Linked DNA regions of Homo sapiens: all the other regions are linked to region 2. Evidence: promoter capture Hi-C in 16 types of primary human blood cells and fetal thymus (Javierre and others, 2016). All regions are on one chromosome and are shown on one strand. Each heading gives the region's core, a stretch centred on a gene start or on the middle of the fragment in contact. The rest is flanking DNA. Distances are from core to core; before and after follow the strand shown.

Region 1 (3,078 bases), core at 179-2,678, 2.3 Mb before region 2:
AGTCGATTTCAAACAAATTCTGAACCCGCGAATGACTTTAGGGAGAAGGAATACTGGTCTTGACCAAGATGTGTGTGATGATTAGTAAGCTTTGGGCAGCAGCCCCCTAATACTGTAAGGAGGTTGTGTTCATTTATCATCTTCCAAGCATAATCTAGGCTTCTGGCAAATTAGACCCAACCACTTTGTTCTACATTCAGCTGCAGGGGGAGGTGAACCCTCCTAGGGATTCCCAACTCCCTCTGAAACTCCAGCGTTCTGGAGGGACTTATGGTTATATGGAGGGCTTGGGAATGGAAGGCACTGTGGAGCTTATGCCATTGTCCCAAGATCCTCCACCTGGGCCAGTAATGGCTAGCCCCGTAAACAAAGTCCCCTTTTGCTGGAACTGCCACCACTAGCTTCCCCCCCTTCTCCTAGCCTCTGTGTGGCCCTCTCCCGCGGCGGGCCTTCCCCATTGGCCAGCCAAACACAACCGACTGCGGCAGCCAATAGGAGCCGCTCTCCTGAACATTCAGAGGATGGGTGCGCGTGGTGTGATAAGGGGATGTTGGCGCCTGGTACGCGCCCCCCTACATCTGGCAAGTCTGTAACAGAAACAGTTACACCCCCTACACACGCACACGCGTGCCCGCTGGCTCCCTCCTCTCAGCTGTACAGGCCCCGGACAACCCACTGCGTGTCTTGGCAGCGGCCTCCCAGGCTGCCTGGGGCCCGCGAGTGCACCTGCTCACTCATTAAGACAGAGCATCCCTTTATCCCAAGGCGCGGGTCGGGTAGAGGGTGGGGGTAGAGGGGACGGGGTAGCGGGGACCGGGAAGGCGCGGCTCAGCTGCCCGCTGCTCCCGAGGTGAAAGAGGTGCCTCCGCCCCCACCCCATCCCCGCAGAGTTGCGTTGCTCCAGGGAGGCCGAAGTGATCCAGTGATGTCTTAAGGTGCAGCTCTTTGTCCTCCCCAGCTGTGCTCCCTGCCCGCTGACCCCGTGCGCTCGAGCCAGTGGGGGTGGGGAGCCCGAAACCTATAACATAAACGGGGGCAAGGAGAAAGAAGTCTATCCCGGGGTGGCGTGTGCCGCTGTCCCCACCCCGTCTCTTTCCTCCTGAGGCTTCTTCCCTCGGGTCCGTCCCGGGAATGCAGGCAGGGGAGGGTGTGGGCCGAGGCGCGGCGGCGGCTGGAGCAGCGCGGTAGGGTCCTTCGCCAGAGCATCCGGTCCGAGGGCGCACACAGGCAGAAGGCTCGCGGCTCGTCCACTCTCCTCCCTCTCTCCTCCTCTCCCTGGCTTTTGTGTTGGTGCCTCCGAGCTGCAAGGAGGGTGCGCTGGAGGAGGAGGAGGGGGGCCCGGAGTGAGAGGCACCCCCTTCACGCGCGCGCGCGCACACGGTGCCGGCGCACGCACACACGGGCGGACACACACACACGCGCGCACACACACACGCACAGAGCTCGCTCGCCTCGAGCGCACGAACGTGGACGTTCTCTTTGTGTGGAGCCCTCAAGGGGGGTTGGGGCCCCGGTTCGGTCCGGGGGAGATGGCGCAGCCCATCCTGGGCCATGGGAGCCTGCAGCCCGCCTCGGCCGCTGGCCTGGCGTCCCTGGAGCTCGACTCGTCGCTGGACCAGTACGTGCAGATTCGCATCTTCAAAATAATCGTGATTGGGGACTCCAACGTGGGCAAGACCTGCCTGACCTTCCGCTTCTGCGGGGGTACCTTCCCAGACAAGACTGAAGCCACCATCGGCGTGGACTTCAGGGAGAAGACCGTGGAAATCGAGGGCGAGAAGATCAAGGTGATCCAGGGGGTCAGGTCCAGGAAGGGTGGGACCCGGGAGGGGACCTCGCCCGAGGCATAGCTCTAGCGGTTGTCGTCGTCCAGCGTCCAGCGCGTGGCGGTTTCGCCTCTTGCTGAGCCGAGGACCCTCGGCTCCTCCTCACCCCTTTTCACCTCTCTCAGCGGGGCCCCGTCCCCACTTCACTCAGTTTTTTAGGGCGGTTGAGAATGGGGTTGCATTCTTACCCTTAGCCCCTGCCTGACAGGTCCTGCCAGGAAAAGCATGTTGGATTCCCATCCATGACCCCTACCCCGAGCAGCGGCACCTGTGGGCAGAGGGAGGCAGGAGGCATCTGTGGGTCCTAGTCTCTGGGATGGATCCCAAAGCACTTTACACATCCTGATGTCTCTTCTACTGCTTGGGTGCCGATAGGCTGCAAAACCCCACTTTGGCTAAGCCTCAAGGCGTTAGAGGGAAGGAAATGATGGAAATCCATGGAGAATGAAAAAGCTGCTTTATTTTAAATTGCAGTTTATAGTTAAAAAATTAGGGCTGAGTTGAGATGGCGGTGGAGTGGGGTGGTTCTGGCAGAAAGCCATGAGCCCTTTTAAAGAAATTGAGGCAGGGTCCAGCCCTTCGTAATAGACAAAACTTGTTTTTTTGTAACAGCCCCCCTGGAATGATATCTTCTTTACTTGTCTGGGGCATCTAATACATGAACTGCTCCTTATTCATTCTGTTGGTATTGTCTTCAGGTCTTTGTAAAAATGCAGTGACTTAACCGAGGGCCAGGGGAATGTTCAATCCTCCCCCTCCATGAGTTTATGTAATAGGCTAAGTGCAAATATTCTTGTCTGACCATTTGTGCTCACCTTTAATTCAGAAAAGGTAGAAACCTGATATGACAGGAATATGTCAATGTGCAGGGGATGGCGGGAGGGAGGACATAACAAGGGCAACTTCTTGTGTCATGGGGAGCAGAGGGGGGCCTCTATAAAGGCACTGGGATCACTGAAGACAACTCCTCTAGGCTCACAGCTGGCCTTTCCTTGAGCGTATGGTTGGACCTTAGACAGAGTCAGGGGTGACAGTAAGCCTCCTTCTTGCTGGTCAAACTGCCAAAGTGACCACAAGGCCCCTCCTCTGAGTGACGTGGAGAGAAGGGCTGAGTAACTGATGAAACTGATGAAACACTTGAAACTGTGCGAGACTCCTGACTCCTTGATTATTAAAATGAACGTGTTCTAAAAATGGCTTCAGAAACTAGGCCAACTCACTAGATGTCAGGAAGATGGACAGCTCAGTACTG
Region 2 (2,836 bases), core at 89-2,588:
TCGCACATTAGAAAAAAGTTAAAAATTATTTTAAAAAGTAGTTAAACATTCAGGATTAGATTTTCATGGGCCAAGGAGAAGATGGAAATATAATCAGGAAAAATCCAAGGTGTCTGATAAGCCTCATTGTCTATTTACCTTTCACTGGAGGGGGAAACAAAACAAAACAAAATTCAGATAAATTGTATCAAGCATGGATGTTTAGTCATTCCCACATACCAACAATCTGTTTTCCAAACATTATATCAGTAATCACCCAAACGTTTATTCACTAAAGCAGGGAGTCCGCTTAATAAAAAAAGTACCAATCACTTCAAAATTAAATCTTGCAAGTTTTGTTTTAATTGATTCTTTCCCATGAAGTCTACCCACAAATACGGAGAGGCTGTGGGGATCCCAGCTCAATTTACAAACGATGTAAGAACATCTAGGAGAAAATAACTCCTTTAAAACATATTACTTTAATTAGAGCCACAATTAATTTATCTGTTTTATCTATCATCTAGCTAGCTAGCTAGCTAGCTAGCTATCTAAGAGTGCTCAGAAAAACACACAGTAGGTCTATTACCCTAATTATGAAACCACAACAAAGAATCACTTAAATGTCAACTTTCATTACTCGTCTGGGTTTAATTTCGTTTTCTTACCATAAAAGCTTATTGTGTGAGTGTTAAAAACTAAAGTTCCCTTTTTAATAGTCTCCTAAAATCTACTCTCATGCCCTTCAAACCCCAGTAGTAAAAGCGAGCTGCCCAAACGTGTTGACTCAGGGCAGGAAGAGACAAGGTTCTGCAAGGAAGCTGTGGCACTGCTCACGATATCGCGTGAAAATGGGGAAATTCGTTGTTAAAAAGCATTTGCTGATTATATGCCATGCAAGAAGTTCCTTTAAATTAAAAAGAAGAAAGTAGAAAAAAAGAAAGAAGGAAGGAAGGGGAGGAGGAAGAGAAGAGGAGGAAGAGAAGGAAGAAGAAAAAGGAGGAGGAGGAAAGGAGGAGGAAAATGATCAAAGCTCTAAAATCGCAACAAAGTTGCAGGATGACTTTTCCTCCTATTTGCTATTTTGTAAAATGAAGTTTAAAAGGCATTATTTCCTCGGCGTCCGAGGAAGGCAGCCTCTCTTACAAATCCCAATTCATCTCCAGCCTTACCTTACGCTGCTAGCGCAAACCCAGAGGCTAAGGGGCCCTGCTCTCAGCGGCAGCAGCAGGGGCAGCGGCAGCGACAGCGGCACATGCCATCTGTTAGCGGCAGAAGCAAAAGCAGCGCTGCGCGAGGTGGCCCCGGTGCCGGGAGAGCCTTTAGCAGGGGTGCATACTGAATGCCGCCATTTTAAAGCGAGGTTCCTGAAATCATTAGATATAAGCAAATTAAAGCCCGCCCCACCTCCAGAACTTCAGGGCTGGGACTTGCAACCCGGCTCCAAGTCGGCCGCTCTGGGGTATAAAATGTCAAGTCTACAGACACGCGCACGCTGACTCTCGGACGGAGGCGACGGTTCCCCCTCTCCCTTCGGCCCCCTTGACCCCTTCGTGCTTTTTGCAAGACTCCTTTCGGTTCCAGGGGCCAGAATACTTTCTTTTCTGGGCTCCTCGAGGCCCCTTCCCGGGGCCGGCCGGCGGGCTGTGGGAGGAGGGGACAAGGCCACGGGCCGGCCCTACCCGCTCCTCCCAGGCTCTTGGTTCAGTCCACTCGGAGCACACCTCGGAGCGCCCCAGCTCCCTCGCGGAGGCCGGGCGTGGGGCTCCCGCCCGGGCTCGCAGCTACCATAGCAACCCCGGTCCCAACCCCGCCCGGCCTTTGCCAAAGGCGTGCCCTCCTCCCGGGCCAGTGCCCTCCGCCGGACGCCAGACGTCCCCTCGCGCAGCCCCGCCGACCCCAGGCAGCCCGGGCTGGGGCCGCGCCTCCGTGCGTCCCGCGCCGGACAGACGCGGCACGCGGAGGGAAACGGCGCCAGCGAGGGGCTTTAGGCGCCAAAACGGAAACTCCCGCGAAACTCCGCGGGCCAGCGGAGCGCGGGCGGGCATCCGGAGCGCCGGACTCGGAAGCGGCGCACGCGGCCGCCCGGCCCCGCCCCGCCCGGCCAGGTAGCGCGGCGCCGCCGCCAACCTCACCTGGCTCCGCGCGCCGCTGCGGGACGGGCGGGAATGCGGCCAAGGGCCGCCCCGGCTCCCGCGCCCACCCCGGACTCTCTGGCCTCCGCCTCTCTCTCACTGCTCCCAAAGAGCGCCAAAAAGTCGCGCTGCGGCTCACGCTCGGAGTGCGGGCACTTTCTTCCTGTAGGGCGCTGTTTCGTCGCGAAATATATTCTTTGTGTGGTTCGCTCACTCGTGCCTGGTTCTCCGAGAGCGCAGCGCGGGCTTTATTCTCAGGGGGTGTGGCGCCTCGCCCCCAAACCCAGCAGCCCAGCCCCCGCTGCACAGACCCTTTGTCATTTCATTAGGAAGGGAAAGGGGGACAAATCATAACGCTCAGATTTTACAAAAGCGAAAACAAACGAAGCAGGCACACATCCCCAGAGGCGGGGTTGGGGTAGGGGTGCAAAGTTTCTGGCTCTTCAGGAACTGAAGTGCCAGTGAGAAAGGCAGTGTGGTTCACAGCGGGACGCTCATAGACACTTCCCAGACAGGTGAGGCGAAATGGGTCCTTTCAAAATTGATCTTAGTCGATGAATAAGTCCACTCGCTACAGGCTAAATAAATACATTCATACTCACCAGCTGCCTTCTTGGGGGTTTTATCTTTCATAAATGCCCCAATCGTTTATTTCCCTCTAAGAATTTCAGACAGGGAAATGCTGATCAGTGCAATCTGTTCCCCTTCTTCCACGGAGTTTG
Region 3 (2,886 bases), core at 240-2,739, 2.7 Mb before region 2:
CAGTGAGCCGAGATCACGCCACTGCACTCCAGCCTGGGAGACAGAGTGAGAGACTCCATCTCGAAAAAAAAACAAAAAAGATACTGTGTTTAGTGTGAAAAGCAGACACCAATAGTGTGAATTATGACCTTTTTTAATTAAAAAATTTTAAACAGCTTTATTGAGGTATAATGGAGCTACAATAAACTGCACATATTTGAAGTATACAATTTGATACGTTTTGACATGTGTATTCCCCCATGAAATCATCACCACAGTCAAGATAGTGAACATATTCATCACTCCTAAAAGCTTCCTGTTACCCTGTGTGATGTCTCCCTTCCCTTCTCTCCCCTCCCCTTCTCCCCAAACCAATTATCTGTTTTCTGAGCAGTATGATTTTTGTAAAAAGAAAAAAAATGTTTATAGACAGAGAGTAGATAGATGCTTAAAACAGTGTAGAGGACAATGATGGGAAATTTTGAAATTTTTTTTGTTTATGTGTTTGTGAAATTGTATGACAAATACAAGTTGCTTTTGTAATACCAAGAAGTTATTAAAGTTATTAAAATCTGCCACAGACAACCCACAAATTGAATATACTGCATAGGTGTTTGATAAATGCCTGTTGGATACTTGCTAGAGGTGTGGAGTTGGCTGTAAGTGCTTTTCAGCTGTGGTGGTGATAAATATACTCATGATGGCTGAGGGGTACTGACTGGAGGGGTGACTGCTCTAGTGATGATGGCTTTAGGTGTACTGATGGCTGTAGGAGTGATGGCTGCAGGGCTGATGGCTGCACGGATGTGATGATGGTTGTAGGAGAGATGACTGTAGGGACGATGGTTATAGGGGTGAGAGGGTCATGAGTGCGGTTGGCTGTAATGTCCAGAAGGGTGACAGCTGTAAGGATGATGGCTGGAAGGGTGATAGCAGCAATGGTGATGACTGTAGAGGTGATGGCTGAAGGATGTCAACTGTAGAGGTGATTACCATAGTGACAATGGCTATAGGTGTGCTGATGGCAGCGGGGATGGCTGCAGGCCTGATGGCTGTAGGGGTGATGGCTGTATGGTGATGGCTATTGATAGGAGTGATGGTAGCAGTGGTGATGGTCACAGGGGTGATGGTAGTGGTAGTGATGGCAGTGACGACCTTGAAGACGTGAGTTGACCGGGAGCATTGATCCAACAGGCAGCCAGATGGTCCAACTTCTGGTTTCTGGATTCTGGTCAGTGAGATAAAGGGCTTGGGTACGCCATATAATGTCGAGCTGATTGTCCACCTCTAGGAAGATGGAGCAGAAGGACTGATGATGATCGACATGAGACAACAAGGTAGGGACTTTCTCTGACTGTTCAACCCAAGAGCCGTCTGCATCAGAATCTCTGGAGACTGAAGCTTGGACTTCCTTCCTCCCTAGGGGCCGGCAGGGGCTGCGATTGCTGTAAGAGTAGGTCACGTGGCAGGGCTTCCTGTATGCTGCTGCTGCCGGGTGTCCATGGCCCGCACCCCCAAGCTGCCACTGCAGCAGTCAGAGTGGCAGCTGAAGGCTCGGTTCATGCCGTGCCCCCGGGCAGTTCTGGTGAGGCTAAGCAAGAGGCCTCTGCATCTTGACACCTAGGAGAGCAGGGACGGAGTCTCCCAGGGTGGAGGACCATGCTGCGCCGCAAGCCCTCCAATGCCAGTGAGAAGGAGCCCACTCAGAAGAAAAAGGTGAGGAGCATTTTGGGAACTCACATCTTCCTTTCCTCTGCTTGCTCGACCCATCCCTTCCAAGACTCTTGGAAGTGGGAAGAGCCAAAGGCCATATGTTGAGTCTGTAGGTGAGGGCCACTCACCTAGAAGGCAACGGGACAGGGACCCAAAGGTTAACAGAAGTACAGAAGAGATGTTTAAAATTCTGGAGCAACAGAGTTACAGAATAGATCCTTAGAAATCTAGAGTCATGCAATTCAACCCTAGAAGAATGGGAAAAAAGATCTAAAATTAGGGGCCAGAATCTTAGACTAGAATTTGAGAATAACAAAATACAATGCTTAAGCTGAACCCTAAGCTTGTACTTAACTATCTCTCCTCTACGCTGGTCCTGCTGCCACTTCTGCCCCGGCCACGGCCTCTCAGGAGCCATCTCACTCAAAGGGCCCTGCTGGGCTGCCCAGCTTGGAGCCATGATGCTCACAGGACTGCCACCCCCTCCTCCACTTTGGCCATGGCCCAGACCCTGCCCACTTGGCTCAGCTCTGTGGTAGCTCCCAGGCCCTACCCGAGATGGAGCCAACCTGGAGATGGGGGCCTGAGGCCATTCCAGTCTTGGGGGAAAAGGCATCCGGAAGTGCAGTGGGATGCAGGGGGCATACAGGTTCTTCCTGGGTGGGGAATGAGAAATTAAGTTGAGGTGGTGAGTAGGAGTGAAGGCTGAGGAGGGAGGATTTTAAAGGCCAGGAGGAAAAACAGCTGTCATGGATGGCTGAGGTGTTCATCCCCCTGGGGCAGAGACCGGACTGGAAGAATCCTTGAAGGCTGTGCCAGATCTAGGATTTTGTGGTTGAATTTGAGGATTTCCAGATTTCTTTGGTTGGGTTTGAGGATTTCTAGACCTAATTCTTTAATTCAATTGAAGGATTCTCCCAGACAATCAGCAAGTATATCCTACACATCCAATGGGATGCTAGGACAGTCCCAAAGCAGGCCTGAACTAGGTCCAAGAGGCCCAGGCTATCCCCCGCCAATTTTCCCTGGAACTCAGCCCAGGTGCCCTATGGTGGATCCCCCTTGTCAGGGGAGTAGCTCAGAGATGGAGGCCAAGGCAGCTGAAAGACTGAGACTCGGGGCAGTGGGGTGTGCATCCTGCCCCAGCTCTCAGGTCCTGGGGTGGCTGCCACTTCCGGCTGTATTCTCCCCACC
Region 4 (2,700 bases), core at 68-2,567, 2.3 Mb after region 2:
CTGAGATATTTGTTTTTAAAAAAGCCTCACTGCTTTAACTCAAATCTTTGTAAATTAGCTGAGGTCTTTATTTTTTATATGAATAGCTGTGAGGAGCCAGATTATATATAATGTAAAAATACACACTGAGGCAGGCGCGGTGGCTCACGCCTGTAATCCCAGCACTTTGGGAGGACGAGGCGGGCGGATCACCTGAGGTCCAGGAGTTCGAGACCAGCCTGGCCAACATGGTGAAACCCCGTCTCTACTAAAATACAAAAATTAACCAGGCGTGGTGGCGAGCACCTGTAATCCCAGCTACTCGGGAGGCTGAGGCAGGAGAATCGCTTGAACCTGGGAGGTGGAGGTTGCAGTGAGCCGAGATCGCGGCCACTGCACTCCAGCCTGAGCAACAAGAGCGAAATTCCATCTCAAAAAAAAAAAAACAAAAAACTGTACGATTATGGTTTAAAAAAGAAAGAAAGAAACCACACTGAAAACAGTAATTCGTTTGCCAAATGAGCTCAGTTAGGTTAGCACCTTAGCAAGACCCTTTGGGACCAAGTGGCCTCTAAGCACTTAGGTAGCAGTATCTTTTTTTTTTTTTTTTTTTCAGACTTTTGCTTTTCTAAAATTACAAAGGTGTAGTGTGTCTGCTGTTACAGGATGGAAAAATGCATCATAGGAGGTTAGAAGCTTGTTGGCCTCAGTCATAAAGGGATAAGAAAAATGAGAATTAGGCATAGGGCAGGAAGGACCTCACTCCTCCCAACGCTTTCATTTCTAAATAATGCTTAAGGAAACCATGCCAGGGTTAGTAAAAGAGTAGAGGCACAACCACGGTAAGTGGGCATTGGGGAAAGAGGAAGGAGGGCAGGACATGGGGATAAAGCGGTTTCTTAACTGCGCGTGCGCCCCTGGCAAAGCTGACTAAGGCGCCTGAAGTGACGTCATTGCCTGCATCACAACAGGCGTCGTCCGGCTGATAGCTTATCGCAGGCTCTGAGGGGCGGGACCCAACTGATTGTCAAAGGCGGCAGATTGTAGTTTTTGTTTTGGCCGGAAAGGCTTACCATGAGTTGCCAGGGCTGAGAGAGATGGAGAAGGATTCGCGGCGGTGACAGATTAAATTCCCCAGTTACATTATAGACTTGGAGGTGGGGGATCTTCTCATCGTTAGAGGCCCCGATCATGGGAGATAGGCGGTTCGGAGCCAGTTCTGCCTAACTTTGTGTTCACTGATGTTAGGGCTGCTAGGGCTGCAAAGGTGGGCACCCCTACTCGCCTAAGAGCTTTCTCCTCTCTTCTCTTTTTCCCCTTTGCCTCTCTCCTTACATCACCTGCCCACTAAGTAGACTTGTCCTTGTGTGGACGGGAGCCGGAAAGCCTTGAGAACTTATTCCTCGACCCGGACATGGCACAGGAGAAAATGAAACTAGGTTTCAAGTCGCTGCCGAGTTCCACTACCGCAGACGGCAACATTCTGAGAAGAGTCAACAGTGCCCCTTTGATCAATGGACTTGGGTGAGCCGGGTTGAGATACTGGAGGAGGCAAGCGGTGGGGAGGAGGTGTTCGGGAAAGTGATTTCCTATAGAATTCCCGTCCCTTTATTTGTTGAGGTTCTGCAGGTAACTCCCTTGTTCCTGGTGTCCGGAGATCCCACCCTCAACCTTGGGTGGGGGTAGTGGGACGGGCTGACCTGAGGGGGAGCGCGCACCCACCCTGAGGTTGACAAACATCTGAATCTGAACATCCTCCCCTGATAGTCCACTCGGACCCGAAAGTAGCAGCCAGTTGGTGTGGAGCACGGCTTTTTTCTAACTTCAACCCATTTCTTACCCACTCCTTTGAAGAAACTTAGTATCCTCCCCCACTCACCTCCAGATCTTCTGCCATGACTGTAATATTTGTCATTTCAGCTGCTTTGTCACCTCTGACCTTCACCTCCAGCCGCTTGAATGGAAATGGTTGTCAAGCAAATAAGCTTTGGACTTTTTTACATTTTTTTTTTTGTCTTTTTTTGAGACGGAGTCTTGCTCTGTCGCCCAGGCTGGAGTGCATTGGCACGATCTCAGCTTACTGTAACCTCCGCCTCCTGGCTTCAAGCAATTCTCATGCCTCAGCCTCCCTAGTAGCTAGGATTACAGGCGCCCACCACCACACCTGGTAATTTTTTGTATTTTTATTTTTTATTTATTTGTTTATTTATTTTTGAGACGGAGTCTCACTCTGTCGCCCAGGCTGGAGTGCAGTGGCGTGATCTCGGCTCACTGCAAGCTCCACCTCCCGGGTTCACGCCATTCTCCTGACTCAGCCTCCCAAGTAGCTGGGACTACAGGCGCCCACCAACACTCCCGGCTAATTTTTTGTATTTTTAGTAGAGACAGGGTTTCACCGTGTTAGTCAGGATGGTCTTGATCTCCTGACCTCGTGATCCGCCCGCCTCGGCCTCCCAAAGTGCTGGGATTACAGGCGTAAGCCACCGTGCCCGGCCTAATTTTTTGTATTTTTAGTAGAGACAGGGTTTCACCATGTTGGCCAGGCTGGTCTCGAACTCCTGGCCTCAGGGGATCCGCCTGCCTCAGCCTCCCAAAGTGCTGGTATTACAGACGTGAGCCACTGCTCCTGGCCTACACCTATTTTTTATTGGAGCAGAAAGTTTTGGTACCACAGAAGCTTGATCTCCTAAATTACACATTCTCACTGGGTGATACTTCCCC

Evidence for each region. The method cuts DNA at HindIII sites, captures the fragments that hold promoters and counts their contacts. A CHiCAGO score of 5 or more calls a contact.
Region 1: a contact is called between the fragment with the promoter of RAB33A here and the fragment with the promoter of MBNL3 in region 2, in 1 of 17 cell types (M1 macrophages). The highest score is 6.9, in M1 macrophages.
Region 3: the fragment with the promoter of SASH3 here is called in contact with the fragment with the promoter of MBNL3 in region 2 in 2 of 17 cell types (naive B cells and non-activated CD4 T cells); the score reaches 8.4 in naive B cells.
Region 4: a contact is called between a fragment that was not itself captured here and the fragment with the promoter of MBNL3 in region 2, in 1 of 17 cell types (total B cells). The highest score is 7.0, in total B cells.

Annotation. Positions count from the first base shown.
Region 1 is chrX:130,170,534-130,173,611 of GRCh38, forward strand. RAB33A (RAB33A, member RAS oncogene family) reads left to right here and starts at 1,429. Exons shown (of 2, transcript NM_004794.3): 1 at 1,429-1,787. The coding sequence starts at 1,530. RefSeq lists enhancers at 153-202, 1,012-1,966 and silencers at 583-642, 813-892. The HindIII fragment of the contact is 5,739 bases long and covers 88-3,078 here.
Region 2 is chrX:132,487,700-132,490,535 of GRCh38, forward strand. It overlaps MBNL3 (muscleblind like splicing regulator 3), which reads right to left and starts at 1,339. Exons shown (of 9, transcript NM_001386889.1): 1 at 1,152-1,339. RefSeq lists a silencer at 1,618-2,187. The HindIII fragment of the contact is 7,236 bases long and covers 654-2,836 here.
Region 3 is chrX:129,778,460-129,781,345 of GRCh38, forward strand. SASH3 (SAM and SH3 domain containing 3) reads left to right here and starts at 1,490. Exons shown (of 8, transcript NM_018990.4): 1 at 1,490-1,695. The coding sequence starts at 1,639. LOC124905215 (a long non-coding RNA gene) reads right to left here. Exons shown (of 2, transcript XR_007068328.1): 2 at 116-1,820. RefSeq lists enhancers at 1,241-1,400, 1,651-1,730, 1,781-1,840. The HindIII fragment of the contact is 655 bases long and covers 1,379-2,033 here.
Region 4 is chrX:134,806,206-134,808,905 of GRCh38, forward strand. It overlaps PABIR3 (PABIR family member 3), which reads left to right and starts at 1,032. Exons shown (of 11, transcript NM_001388447.1): 1 at 1,032-1,136; 2 at 1,335-1,503. The coding sequence starts at 1,394. RefSeq lists enhancers at 1,389-1,548, 1,934-2,700. The HindIII fragment of the contact is 1,289 bases long and covers 674-1,962 here.